Linked DNA regions of Homo sapiens: all the other regions are linked to region 2. The links are contacts of gene promoters, found by promoter capture Hi-C in human tissues and cell types (Jung and others, 2019). All regions are on one chromosome and are shown on one strand. Each heading gives the region's core, a stretch centred on a gene start or on the middle of the fragment in contact. The rest is flanking DNA. Distances are from core to core; before and after follow the strand shown.

Region 1 (4,403 bases), core at 26-2,525, 450 kb before region 2:
ATTAAAATGCGCATGTGGGCCGGGCACACTGGCTCACAGCTGTAATCCCAGCACTTTGGGAGGCCTAGGCGGGTGGATCACGAGGTCAGGAGATTGAGACCATCTTGGCCAACATGGTGAAAACCCGTCTCTACTAAAATACAAAAAATTAGCCGGGCGTGGTGGCACGTGCCTGTAATCCCAGCTACTTGGGAGGCTGAGGCAGGGGAACTGCTTGAACCTGAGAGGCAGAGGTTGCAGTGAGCTGATAGCACGCCACTGCACTCCAGCCTGGTGACAGAGCAAGACTCCGTCTCAAAAAAAAAAAAAAAAAAAAAGCGAATGTGGATTCAGCAGGACTGGAGTGATATTGACATTAAGTGGTTCTAACAAGCCCCCAGGTGCTGCTGACCCACGTGGATCGCACTTCATTTTATTTCACTTTTTTGAGACAGGGTCTTACTCTTGCCCAGGCTGGAGTGCAGTGGTGCAATCACGGCTCACTGAAACCTCTGCTTCCTAGGCTCAAATAATCCTTCCCCCTCAGCTTCCCGAGTAGCTGGGACTAACGGCGTTTGCCACCACACCCAGCTAATTTTTGTATTTTTTTCTTTTCTTTTTTTTTTTTTGAGACAGAGTCTCGTTCTGTCACCCAGGCTGGAGTGCAGTGGCGCAATCCTGGCTCACTGCAAGCTCCGTCTCCCGGGTTCACGCCATTCTCCTGCCTCAGCCTCCCGAGTAGCTGGGACTACAGGCGCCCACCACCACACCCAGCTAATTTTTTGCATTTTTAGTAGAGACGGGGTTTCACCATGTTAGCCAGGATGGTCTCGATCTCCTGACCTTGTGATCCACCCGCCTCAGCCTCCCAAAGTGCTGGGATTACAGGCGTGAACCACCGTGCCCGGCCAATTTTTGTATTTTTTGTAGAGATGGGGGTCTCGCCATGTTGCCCAGGCTGGTCTCAAACTCCTGGGTTCAAGTTATCTGCCCGTTTTGGCCTCCCCAGTGCTGGGATTACAGTTGTGAGCCACTGCACCTGGCCTAAAGTCAGTCTAGATAATACCTACAATTTATTCTGGATTATACCTTTCTTCCCTAACTTAGTTTTGCCTCCTGTATCAGTTAAGTTTCCTAGTTACAAACATCAGCACATACTCTAGTTAGCACAGAAAAGGCACTTTTCAAAAAAAATTTATTTATTTATTTATTTATTTGAGATGGAGTCTCACTCGGTAGCCCAAGCTGGAGTGCCATGGTGTGATCTTGGCTCACTGCAACCTCTGCCTCCGGGGCTCAAGTGATTCTCCTGCCTCAGCCTCCCAAGTAGGCAGGGATTACAGGCACCTGCCACAATGCCTGGCTAATTTTTTGTATTTTAGTAGAGACGGGGTTTCACCATGTTGCCCAGGGTGGTCTCGAATTCCTTAGCTCAGGTGATCTGCCCACCTTGGCCTCCCAAAGTGCTGGGATTACAGGTATTTATTTATTTGAGACAGGGTCTCTACCACCTAGGCTGGCTGGCATGCAGTGGTGCAATCATAGCCCATGGCAGCCTCAGACTCCTGGGCTCAAGCCATCCTGCTGCTTCCGCCTCCAGAGTAGCTGTGACTATAGGCACACACCACCACACCCACCTATTCTCTTCCATTTTTTGTAGAAAGAGGATCTCGCTATGTTGCCCAGGCTGGTCTCAAACTCCTGGCCTCAAGCACTTCTCCTGCCTCAGCCTCCCAAAGTGCTGTGATTACAGGCATGAGCCACCACACCCAGCCGAAAAAGCATTTATTATCAGGCACTGGGGAACTCTCAGAACCACTAGGGCCCTGGGCTCCCAGGAACAGTGCCCAGACCACGTTGCAAAACTGAAATGATGAGAGAACCAGCCTTCCAAGTGCAGGACACTGAGCCAATGTGCACTGATGCCAGGGACAGAAACCACTGCATCCACCACTGTCACCAGCACCAATGCCACATGTGTATCTGGAACTCAACCTCACAGCTATTGCCAGCCCCCAGAGCTGGACATTGCTGTGGTCATCCTCACCAGCAGATGGATGGACTCCACATAGAGCCTGCTTTTTCATGTTGTTTATTTAATTAATTCTTTTTTTTTTTTTTTTTGAGACAGAGTCTCACTGTGTTGCCAGATTGGAGTGCAGAGGCACAATCTTGCCTCACTACAACCTCCGCCTTCCAGGTTCAAGCAATTCTCCTGCCTCAGCCTCCCAGGTAGCTGGGACTACAGACAGGCATGTGCCACAATGCCCAGCTAATTTTTGTACTTTTAGTAGAGAAAGGGTTTCACCATGTTGGCCAGGATGGTCTTGATCTCTTGACCTCATGATCTGCCCGCTTCGGACTCCCAAAGTGCTGGGATTACAGGCGTGAGCCACCGTGCCTGGCCTCTTTTTTTTTTTTTTTTTCTGAGACGGAGTCTCGCTCTGTTGCCCAGGCTGAAGTGCAGTGGCGCAATCTGGGCTCACTGCAAGCTCTGTCTCCCGGGTTCATGCCATTCTCCTGCCTCAGCCTCCTGAGTAACTGGGACTACAGGCATCCACCACCACACCCAGCTAATTTTTTCTATTTTTAGTAGAGACGGAGTTTCACCGTGTTAGCCAGGATGGTCTTGATCTCCTGACCTCGTGATCCACCTGCCTTGGCCTCCCAAAGTGCTGGGATTACAGGCGTGAGCCACTGTGGCTGGCCATTTTTTTTTTTTTTTAAGAGACCAGGGTCTGGGACTGGGTGTGGTGGCTGAGGCCTGTAATCCCAGCACTTTAAGAGGCCAAGACGGGTGGATCACGAGATCAGGAGATCAAGATCATCCTGGTTAACATGGTGAAACCCCGTCTCTACTAAAAATACAAAAAATTGGCCGGGCGTGGTGGTGGGTGCCTGTAGTCCCAGCTACTTGGGAGGCTGAGGCAGGAGAATGGCATGAACCCGGGAGACGGAGCTTGCAGTAGGCCAAGATCACACCACTGCACTTCAGCCTGGGAGACAGAGCAAGACCCCATCTCAAAAAAAAAAAAAAAAAAGAGACCAGGGTCTTACTGTGTTGCCCAGGCTAGGGTGCAGTAGCATGATCATAGCTCACTGCAGCCTTGAACTTCTGGGCTCCAGCGATCCTCTCACCTATGCTTCCCAAAGTGATGGGATTACAGGTTGCACCACCATGCCTGGCTCATGTTTATTTCTAAAGTATCACAACAGTATGTTGGATTAGTGGAGCCTCAGTCACATGACCTAGCCTAAGTCACATGACCATTCCTTAGCTGCAAGGGAGGCTGGAGAATCATGCTTCCTGGCTTCTAACTTGGGGGATGGGGTAGTGGCAAGACTCATAAGGCAGAAAATTCTTCAAAATAGCTCACAAGACCGGGCACAGTGGCTCATGCCTGTAATCCCAGCACTTTGGGATGCTGAGGCAGGTGGATCACCTGAGGTCAGGAGTTTGAGACTAGCCTGGCCAACATGGTGAAATCCTGTCTCTACTAAAAATACAGAAATTAGCCAGGCGTGGTGACGCACGCCTGTAATCCCAGCTACTGGGAAGTCTGAGGCAGGAGAATCACTGGAAGCTGGGGAGTAAAGATTGCAGTGAGTCAAGATCGTGCCACTTCACTCTAGCCTGGGTGAAAAAGCAAAACTCCGTCTCAAAAAAAAAAAAAAAAAGAAATACATTCTGTAAGGCTGTGGCTACCATAGCTAGTGATTCCTTTTCTCAAATGGGCACAGTGACTCACGCCTGTAATCGCAGCACTTTGTGGGGTGGAGACGAGCAGATCACCTGAGGTCAGGAGTTCGAGACCAGCCTGGCCAACATGGAGAAACCCCATCTCTACAAAAAATACAAAAATTAGCTGGGTGTGTTGGCACATGCCTGTAATCCCAGCTACTTGGGAGGCTGAGGCAGGGAGAATTGCTTGAACCCGGGAGGCAGAGGTTGCAGTGAGCTGAGATCATGCCACTGCACTCCAGCCTAGGTGACAGAGTGAGACTGTCTGAAAAAAAAAAAAAGTCAGCTCACAAACATGACAAATATCCACAACACAGTTATAAACATAATGACTGGGCATGGTGCTTTACGCCTGTAATCCCAGCACTTTGGAGGCCAAGATGGGTGGATTGCTTGAGCCCAGGAGTTCGAGACCAGCCTGGATGACATAGCAAGAACCCCGTCTCTAAAAAAATAAAAATTAAAATAAAAAAAGCAAAAAATAGCCAGGTGTGGAGGCATATACCTGTAGTCCCAGCTATTTGGGAGGCTGAAGTGGGAGAATTGATTGGGCCTGAGAGGTTGAGGCTGTAGTGAGCCAAGATGGTGCCACTGCACTCCAGGGTGACACAGAGACCCGGTCTCAAAAACAAACAAACAAAAGAATAGACAAAATAACCACTGAGAAATCTGTGAAGAATAA
Region 2 (4,769 bases), core at 1,529-4,028:
GCGGGCGCCTGTAGTCCCAGCTACTCGGGAGGCTGAGGCAGGAGAATGGCGTGAACCCAGGAGGTGAAGGTTGCAGTGAGCCGAGATTGCGCCACTGCCCTCCAGCCTGGGCGACAGAGACTCTGTCTCAAAATAAATAAATAAATAAGATAAAAATAAAATAAAATTCCCTGACTGCTTAAACTACTTTTGGTTGCAGTTTCTTGGTACAGCTGAAACATCCCAATTGGCATAAGGATTGAAAGAGGAAATTTTGTTACAGGTATTTTTGAGAAAGACTAGAGTATAATGGAAGACAAGAGAGGGCCTCAAGGGGCCTCCTTTAGGGCAGTGTTACTCAAAGTGTGGTTCATGGACCAGCAGCATCATAATTATCCTGGGATTTGTTAGGAATGCAAATTACCAAGTGCTTCACCCAAGACTGATCAACTCAGATTCTCTGAGGGTGGGACTGGGGCTCTGTTTATTTTTTTATTTTAACTTTTTATGGATACATAATATTTTACATATGTATGGGATATCTGTGATATTTTGTTACGTGCATAGGATGTGTAATGATTAAGTCAGAGCATTAGTGGTATCCATCACTTTGGGAATTTACTCATGTGTTGGAAACAATTCAAGTCCTCTCTTCTAGATTTTTGTTATTGTTGTTGTTGAAACAGAGTCTCTGTCACCTAGGCACTGGAATGCAGTGGTGCAATCACAGCTCACTGCAGCTTCGACCTCCCTGGCTCGCATGATCCTCCTTGCTTTACCCTCCTAGTAGCTGGGACTACAGATGTGAGCCACCACACTCAGCTATATATATATTTTATTTTTTGTAGAGGCAGGGTCTAACTACGTTGTCCAGGCTGGTCTTGACCTCCTGGGCTCAAGGTATCCTCCCGCCTTGGCTTCCCAAAGTGTCTTCCAGCTATTTTGAAATATACAATCCATTGTTGTTAATTATAGTCACTACTCTGCTTTTGAACCATAGAACATAAACCTTTTTATCTAACTGTATGTCCTTCATTAACCTAAATCTCTTCATTTCTCACCCAACCGTTCCCAGCCTCTGGTTTCTTTCTACTCTCTAAATTTATGAGATCGATTTGTTTTAGCTGCCACAGATAAGAACATGCAATATTTATGTCTTTCTGTGCCTGGCTTATTTCACTTAACATAATGACGTCCATCCACGTTGCTGCAGATGACGTGATTTCATTCCTTTTCATCTGTGTTTAAACAAGGTCTCCCTCCAGGGATTTTGATGCAACTGAAGTTGGAGAAAACACAGACCTAGGACACTCCTGCAGCTGGGAGTGCGATGGTCTAACAGAGGAAGTGCTATGCCACCAGCTCATCTTTGCCATCCTGGAGCTGTCTAATCTACGACTCAGTTTTCTTTTCTGTCACTACACTGTGAGAATGAGATGAGGAACTGGGTGTGAAAACGGTTTGAAAAGGAGAAGCATGGTTGCACACGCCTGCGATCCCAGCACTTTGGGAGGCTGACGAGGGAGGACAGCTTGAGGCAAGGAGTTTGAGACCAGCCTGGGCAACATGACAAGACCCCATTTCTTAAAAAAAAAAAAAAAAAAAAATTTTTTTTTCTTTTTTGAGACGGAGTTTCGCTCTTGTTGCCCAGGTTGGAGTATAGTGGCCGTGATCTCGCCTCACTGCAATCTCCATCTCCTGGGTTCAAGCGATTCTCCTGCCTCAGCCTCCCTAGTAGCTGGGATTGCAGGTGTGCCACCATGCCTGGCTAATTTTGTATTTTTAGTAGAGATGAGGTTTCACCATGTTGGCCAGGCTGGTCTCAACTTCCTGACCTCAGGTGATCCACCCGCATCGCTTACCAAAGAGCCAGGATTACAGGCGTGAGCCACTGCGCCCGGCCAAAATTTTAAAAAATCAGCTGAGTGTGGTGGTGCGCGTCTGTGGTCCCAGCTACTCGGGAGGCTGGGGCGGGAGGATTGCTTGAGCCCAGGGGTTGCAATGAGCTATGATTGCGCCACTGCACTTCAGCCTGGGTAACAGAGTGAGACTTTGTCTTTTAAAGAAAGGAGAAAATGGCTTGAACGGGCTAAGAACCTTGACCCCCAGGAGACTCCCTGCGCTGATAGAGCCTCTAGGGCTGGACTCCGCCTCCCAGGGAGCCGGGAGCATCTTGGGGAAGGGCCTGTCTCCATCTGTGTGTCCCGGTGGAAAAACGGTCACGGTGGGGAGTCACTGTCATTATTCATTGAACTCAAGCGCTCCTATTTTGGGTTTTCTCGTTCGGATTTCTGCGCGAGCGAGTGAGGAAGAACTGGACACCCGGGCGGTGCCCTGCGGCTCGGGGCGGGGCCAGCCGCGGTGGCGTGTCCGCAGCCACCTCAGCCCTCCTCCCGCCACATCCTCCAGGAAAGGCTGCTCAGGCCTTCCATTGAGGAGACAAGGACCCGCTGCTCTGGGGCCAGACACACGAGTAAGTCGTGACCCCCTGTGTGAAGGGATAAGGCGTCTACCCTGACGCGGGTGAGAACCCTCTTCACGGCAGACTCCGACGCCCAGTTATGAGAGCGTAGCGGCGCACCACCGCCGGGTCTCTCGGAGAGGGCGCGCCCGCTGGCCAGAGGACCAATCAGTGCACGGCAGGCTCGCAGGCCGCCCCCCCCCCCCCCCCCCAACCCAGGGACCACTCAGGCGCCGGCCGCTGGCGCTGCCTGCTCTTCGACTGGGCGAGCTTCCTGCCAATCAGGGCGGAACCAGCGCGGCGTCGGCCAGTAGCGGGAGGCGGTCGGGTCAGGCCCCAGCTGGGCGCGAGCGGGTCGGCGTTGAGGGAGCCACCGCCCTCCCGCCTGCGCACTGCCTCTCGCCCCCCTCCGGCCAGCCCGCAGCCGGCCGCGTCATGCCAGGCGCTGCTCGGCGGTAGGGAGTGCCCGGGGCCGCCGCCTCCGCCCGCCCGAAGCCGCGCCCACTGCCCAGAGCCAGAGGGATGGTGGTAGTCACGGGGCGGGAGCCAGACAGCCGTCGTCAGGACGGTGCCATGTCCAGCTCTGACGCCGAAGACGACTTTCTGGAGCCGGCCACGCCGACGGCCACGCAGGCGGGGCACGCGCTGCCCCTGCTGCCACAGGAGGTACCCGGGCGGGCGGCGGGCCGCGGGGCGTGGGGAGGGGCGCGGGGGAGAAGCGGGCGCGGGGCATAGCGGTCCTCGGCGGGTGGGCGGGGCCGGGGTTGGGGGCGGGGCCCGCGGACTTGCGCCCCTCCCCCGCCCACCTGCAACTCCCCCGCCCACCTGCACCCCTACCCACCCACCTTCAACCCCTGTCAATTACACCCACTAGGTGTGCTTCCCCACCCCCTACACCCTCCGCCCAGTAGTCACTGGGGTGATTTACTCCCATCGCCATGTCCCACTTTTACCGAAGACAGGAGGGAGGGTGGGCCGTGGGAGGGGGACCCTGGAGCCCCGAGAGCTGATGGTGTGTCTGACCAGGCACCGTAGCTCGAGCCTGTAATCCCAACACATTGGGAGGGAGGATCGCTTGAGGGCAGGAGTTGGAGGCCAGCCTGGGCAACATAGCGAGGCCCCGTCCCTACTACGACTGGAAAAACAAAGGCATTTTGGGTTGGATGAATAAAAAAAAGAAAAGAAAAAGATGTCTTCTAGAGAATCCAACAGGATGCTGTAGTGGTTGCCCACACCTAGTCTCCAGCTACCTAAGGAACAAGGCAAGGAGCTGTCTGCACATAAGGGGCAGGCCAGTTCATAGATGTAGGCACGGTCACCTGGCATCCCATGGCTTTCACTCACAGGCTGCTGTGCTCTGGTGCACAGGGGCTTCCACGGGTCTTACTTAATGTGTGTGATACTATCATGTCAACACCTGAAATGACACTCAAGAGACGGGAGAAGATACCAGGCATGGTGGCTCACATCTGTAATCTCAGCAGTTTGGGATGCTGAGGTGGGAGGATTGCTTGATCCCAGCAGTTAGAGACTAGTCAGGGCAACAGTGAGACCCTGCCTCTACAAAAATGAAAATTAGCCAGGCTTGGTGGTGTGTGCCTGTAGTCCCAGGTGCTCAGGAAGGTGAGTTGGGAGGATTGCTTGAGCCCTGGAGGTTGAGGCTGCAGTGAGCTGTAATTGTGCCACTGTACTCCAGCCTGGGTGTGATAGAGTAAGACCGTACCTACAAACAAACAAAAACAAAAAAAGCAAGAGAAGGGAAACGATGCCAGGTGTGGTGGCTTACACTTGTAATCCCAGCACTTTGGGAGGTCAAGGCAGGAGGATGGTTTGAGGCCAGGAGTCTGGGACCAGCTTGGGCAACACAGACTCCATCTCTACAAATAAAAAATAAAGAGGAGGGAAGGTGAAGCATTACTGGACACCGAAGATGGCTTCTAGGAGGCAGGGACTAAGGTAGTGCCAGATCCAGGAGCATGTGGTATGCGGAGTCCCAGGACAATGGAGGCCCTCAACAATTGAGGCCCTCAACAGGCTGGGCTAGGTGATGCTCTTGGGAAGCAGATAGTGTTGTGCTGGGATTGCAAGCCCCATACACACAATGCCATGGGAAAATGAGCAAAAATCTAGAAGTAATCTCTGCAATTGGAAAAAAGTCATTAGTCACAGTGGTGCTATTTTTTTGTGCACTGTCATTGGGAAAATGATATGGTTTGAGGGAAAGAGCACAAGACCACAGATTGCAGACCAGGGCCCCACCACCAGTTCCCCCCACTGATGACATTGCCCCATGTGAGCTCCAAAACTGTTTCCGATGGCTTTTGTCCTC
Region 3 (5,056 bases), core at 776-3,275, 360 kb after region 2:
GTGTTAGCCAGGCTGGTCTTGAACTTCTGACCTCAGGTGATCTGCCCGCCTCAACCTCCCAAGTGCTGGCATTACAGGCGTGAGCCACTGCACCCAGCCTACACCCAGTTAATTCTTTAATTTTTGTACAGACAGAGTCTTGCTATGTTGCTCAGGCTGGTCTTGAACTCCTGGACTCAAGCGATGCTCCTGCCTTGGTCTCCCAAAGTGCTGGGATTATAGGCATGAGCCACTGTGCCTGGACTCTTTAAACTTTCTTTAAAGTGTCTTCTGTCATTCTGAAATTTTACATTTTTATGTAGTTAAATCTGTTGGTATTTTCCTTGATAATTTTTAGGTTTCTGTTTTTCTTAAGAAAGTCTTTTAACCCTTAGGTTAAATATTTCCTTATATTTTCTACTAACTCACAGTTTTTTGTTGTTGTTGTTTGTTTGTTTTTTGAGATGGAGTCTCGCTCTGTCGCCCAGGCTGGAGTGCAGTGGTGTGATCTTGGCTCACTGCAATCTCCATCTTCCAGGGTCAAGTGATTCTCCTGCCTCAGCCTCCCGAGTAGCTGGGACTACAGACACGTGCCACCACTCCCGGCTAATTTTTTGTATTTTTAGTAGAGACGGGGTTTCACCGTGTTAGCCAGGATGGTCTCCATCTCCTGACATCGTGATCCGGCAGCCTTGGCCTCCCCAAGTGTTGAGATTACAGGTGTAAGCCAGTATCTGATAGTTTTATGTTTACATTTAGTTCTGATATAAAATATATTTTTTTTGAGATGGAGTTTTGCTCTTGTCACCCAGGCTGGAGTGTAGTGGCAGAATCTTGGCTCACTGCAACCTCTGCCTCCTAGGTTCAAGAGATTCTCTAGCCTCAGCCTCTTGAGCAGCTGGGATTACAGGCGGCCGCCACCATGCCCAGCTAATTTCTTTTTTTTTTTGAGTCAGCGTCTCGCTCTGTCACCCAGGCTGGAGTGCAGTGGCTCACTGCAACCTCTGCCTACCAGGTTCAAGTGATTCTCCTGCCTCAGCCTCCTGAGTAGCTGGGACTAGAGGCATGCGCCACCGTGCCCAGCTAATTTTTGTATTTTTAGTAGAGACAGGGTTTCAGCATGTTGGCCAGGATGGTCTCGATCTCTTGACCTCGTGATCTGCCTGCCTTGGCCTCCCAAAGTCTTGGTATTACAGGCGTGAGCAACCACAGCCAGCTAATTTTTGTATTTTTAATAGAGACTGGGTTTCGTCATTTTGGCCAGGCTGGTCTTGAACTCCTGACCTCAGGTGATCTGCCCACCTGGGCCTCCCAAAGTGCTGGGATTACAGGCATGAGCCACTGTGCCTGGTCCACGTGTTTATTATTTCAGACATTTACTCCACATCTGCTAGGTCCAAAGCATGGTGGGATATACACACACATTGCTAAGTCCCTTGCCCTTAAGGAGCTCACAGTCTAGCCTGAAGGCAGATAATTAAGCAGCTCTAATACAAGTTTGAATAAATCCAGACCCATGAAGGAATTTAAGTAGAGTACTGGCTTCCAGCAACTGGAGCAAATACTTGTGTATGGGGTACAAGGGAAGCTTCAGAGAAAAGAACTGTGGTAAAAGAAGAGGCCTAAGTCTGAAATGTCATTGTGACCAAATGCACACACCATCAGCTTGCATTGAAAAAGTCAAACCAATCCTTAAAATAATCCATTATGGCTGTGGTACTGGGAAGATGATCATGAACCAAAAAATGTTAAGTTCTTTGATAATGAAATTAGTATAAAATTAAAAAAATAAGTTTAGATGATGACTCAGATGTGATCCACATTTGACATTTCTTGAAGTTCCAGCTTTTTAGAAAAAATGAATATTCAGAATCAGAAAATCTTTGTTTTGAGATGGGGTCTGGCTCTGTTGTCCAGGCTGGAGTGCAGTGGGGTGATTTTAGCTCACTGCAACCTCCGCCTCCCGGGCTCAAGTGATCCTCCTGCCTCAGCCTCCCAAGTAGTTGGGAAAACAGGTGCACACCACCATGCCTAATTTTTTGTATTTTTGTAGAGACGGGGTTTCACTGTGTTGCCCAGGCTGGTCTCAAACTCCCAAGCTCAAGTGATTCACCCGCCTTGGCCTCCCAAAGTGCTGGGATTACCGGTGGGAGCCACTGCGCCTGGCCCCAGAAAATCTTAAGGAAATGTTCTATTAAATGTTTATATTTTTTTACTAAGATAGAACTATTGATATATTGAACAAATAGCTGTATCAAAACAGCAGCCTAGCTTTAGCATTAACAGAAAAAGTGTTCATTCCCATGTTATCAATGTATTTTGTTAACAATATAAGAAAAAATTTTGACTTTATAACCTCAATGTTAGTTATTTTAAACTAAAGGGACATTTCTGAGAGCTTGTATTAGCAGGGAGTTGTGTGTGCTTATAAACCAATCAGTACCTTTTCAAGTCAAGAAGCCTGTCTTCAGTTAAAAACTGCTGTCCAGAAATACATCTGTATGTTTATTTTGAGTGAATTTAATTTATATTCTAGAATGTATCTTTTGAAATAGATTTTTTTTCTTTTTTTTGGAGACCGAGTTTCACTCTGTCACCTAGACTGGAGTGCAGTGGCACATTCTCAGCTCATTGCAACCTCTGCCTCCTGGGTTCAAGTGATTCTCCTGCTTCAGCCTCCCGAGTAGCTGGGACTACAGGCGTGCACCACCATGCCTGGCTAATTTTTGTATTTTTAGTAGAGACAGGGTTTCACCATGTGGGTCAGGCTGGTCTCAAACTCCTGACCTCAGGTGATCCGCCTGCCTCGGCCTCCCAAAGTGTTGGGATTGCAGGTGTGAGTCACCTCCCCTGGCCTTGAAGTAGATTTTTAAAAGCTTGCATCTTGTCCATTTAAGTGTTTAAATACTAAAATAATTCTTCCCAATTACATCCCAAGTGTTAGCAAAAATTTTTCAGGTGTTTACAAGTACAGGCCCTGTTCTAAGCACTCTTCATATGGACTTATTCAGTTCTCCTGACAACTCCCTAACCCTACCACAGACACAGGCAGAGAAAAGAAAGGGAGTTAGGAAGTTGTCTAGAAACACAAGCCATAGTTTAATAAACATAAGAGTGGTTTTATTGATTACATACAATTTTAGCTATATTAATATATATTATAAACTTTAAGAATTAGAAATAAGTGACTTTTATTTTTTAACCAAGAATAATCTAAGTTATGGCAGCATGTTCAATGAAAGGTAAGTCCGGCACAATTTTTCTATATCTGTTTCTCAGATAATCAGGAACATCATCCAAGCTTTACATTACGATACCATAATGACCCTCAGAACACAAGTTCCATTAAGTAGAAATGAAGCATCATATGTTTTCTTTTTTAGGAAAGACCCCCCCTTTTGTTGTATAGACATACCCCTAATAATCTTACTCTACTGTACAAATAACTTTTCACCCACAAGAGCTGCCTCAAGTAACTTTCATTTTGGAAAGCTATCAAGGCATGAGACAGAGTAGCAAAATGCCACTCTGGACTTTGCATCTTGGAGTTTCAATTTTGCTTTAGGATTTAGACCCCAGTTTATAATTAAAACCAAATCATTCCCACATTATTATACTTATGTAGGAAAGCCTTGCTGTGTCCACTGTTAACACAAAGATAGAAAATGTCAAATAGTTTAAGCAAGTATTTGGCAGACCACAGACATGAAACAGTGCCGTCGGAAACGGAAACACTTTAGTGTTTTAGAGGTGAAGAGATTGATGGGTGTCATTCAAATTTCTCATCTCCTTCTTCTACATCTTTCAGATTGAGTACTTCCAAAGAACCTTTGCCTTTAGTTTCCTTTTTTATTAGCTCATCAATTTCTCGGAAGCAGCCCGGGTCAATCAGACATACCTGAAACATTTAACGTAGCAGATTACCACATGAGGATGAGCAAGACACAGAATAAACTCAGCTTTAACTTCCTTTGAGGCAAGCACAATGCTGTCCAGATCTCTAATAATACCACAGTTCTATGGTGCAATAGATAAGACAATGGGTAGGGCGGCACACTGGGTTCCAGTTTAGCCTCTGCCCTCAAGTGTCCATGTAGCCCCCTGTGACAAGGCATTAATCCCTATGTTTAAACACTTATTCTGATTCTTCAGCTGTAAATGGAAGGGACAAACTAGAAAACTCTGATTCTTCTCATACTAAAATTTAGCATTACATTTTATAGCTCAGTAAAGTCACCTCCACGTATGAAGGAGAAAAAGCAATGTGAAGACTTATGTAGACACCATGTGTATGTTAATTTATTTTTTTTTGAGATAGAGTGCAGTGGTGTGATCTTGGCTCACTGCAGCCTCCGCCTCCCAGGTTCAAGTGATTCTCCTGCCTCAGCCTCCCAAGAAACTGGGATTACAGGAACCCACCACCACACCTGGCTTATTTTTTGTATTTTTAGTAGAGATAGGGTTTCACCATGTTATCTGCTCACCTTGGCCTCCCAAAGTGCTGGGATTACAGGCACGAGCCACTGTGCCTGGCCCATGTGTACAGTTTTGCAAAGATTTTAGAACTTCAAGTAGTGTCAGATGAGTTAGTTCACATCTACAGTGGATACTCACATACTCAACACTTCTCTACAGCTCATTTACTTTTAAAAAGAAGCTGCAGACAGGGCGCGGTGGCTCAAGCCTGTAATCCCAGCACTTTGGGAGGCCGAGGCGGGTGGATCACCTGAGGTCGGGAGTTCGAGACCAGCCTGACCAACATGGAGAGACCCCGTCTCTACTAAAAATACAAAATTAGCTGGGCGAGGTGGCACATGCCTGTAATCCCAGCTACTCGGGAGGCTGAGGCAGGAGAATCGCTTGAACCCGGGAGGCAGAGGTTGCAGTGAGCTGAGATCACGCCATTGCACTCTAGCTTGGGCAATAAGAGTGAAACCCTGTCTCAAAAATAAATAAATAAATAAATAAATAAATAAGCTGCAAAGCCTTGAAAACATGAATTTGTAGACAGCTCAATTTACACTGTGTTTGAAGCTGTGGGGTGAGGTCATAAGGACATAATGGTTTCGCTGCTTCT

What was found. The method cuts DNA at HindIII sites, captures the fragments that hold promoters and counts their contacts. A contact is called where the count stands out against the background at its distance.
Region 1: a contact is called between a fragment that was not itself captured here and the fragment with the promoter of KCTD7 in region 2, in 1 of the 25 tissues and cell types used here (IMR-90 fibroblasts).
Region 3: a contact is called between a fragment that was not itself captured here and the fragment with the promoter of KCTD7 in region 2, in 2 of the 25 tissues and cell types used here (aorta and dorsolateral prefrontal cortex).

Annotation. Positions count from the first base shown.
Region 1 is chr7:66,175,208-66,179,610 of GRCh38, forward strand. No RefSeq gene overlaps it. Among named protein-coding and RNA genes, the nearest start is that of TPST1, 28 kb to the right of the region's middle. RefSeq lists a silencer at 2,732-2,895. The HindIII fragment of the contact is 7,445 bases long and covers 1-4,403 here.
Region 2 is chr7:66,626,103-66,630,871 of GRCh38, forward strand. It overlaps KCTD7 (potassium channel tetramerization domain containing 7), which reads left to right and starts at 2,779. Exons shown (of 4, transcript NM_153033.5): 1 at 2,779-3,106. The coding sequence starts at 2,963. RefSeq lists silencers at 1,360-1,559, 2,570-3,139. The HindIII fragment of the contact is 13,354 bases long and covers 1-4,769 here.
Region 3 is chr7:66,984,623-66,989,678 of GRCh38, forward strand. It overlaps SBDS (SBDS ribosome maturation factor), which reads right to left. Exons shown (of 5, transcript NM_016038.4): 5 at 3,058-3,877. The coding sequence ends at 3,749. Among named protein-coding and RNA genes, the nearest start is that of SBDS, 8.4 kb to the right of the region's middle. The HindIII fragment of the contact is 6,084 bases long and covers 1-5,056 here.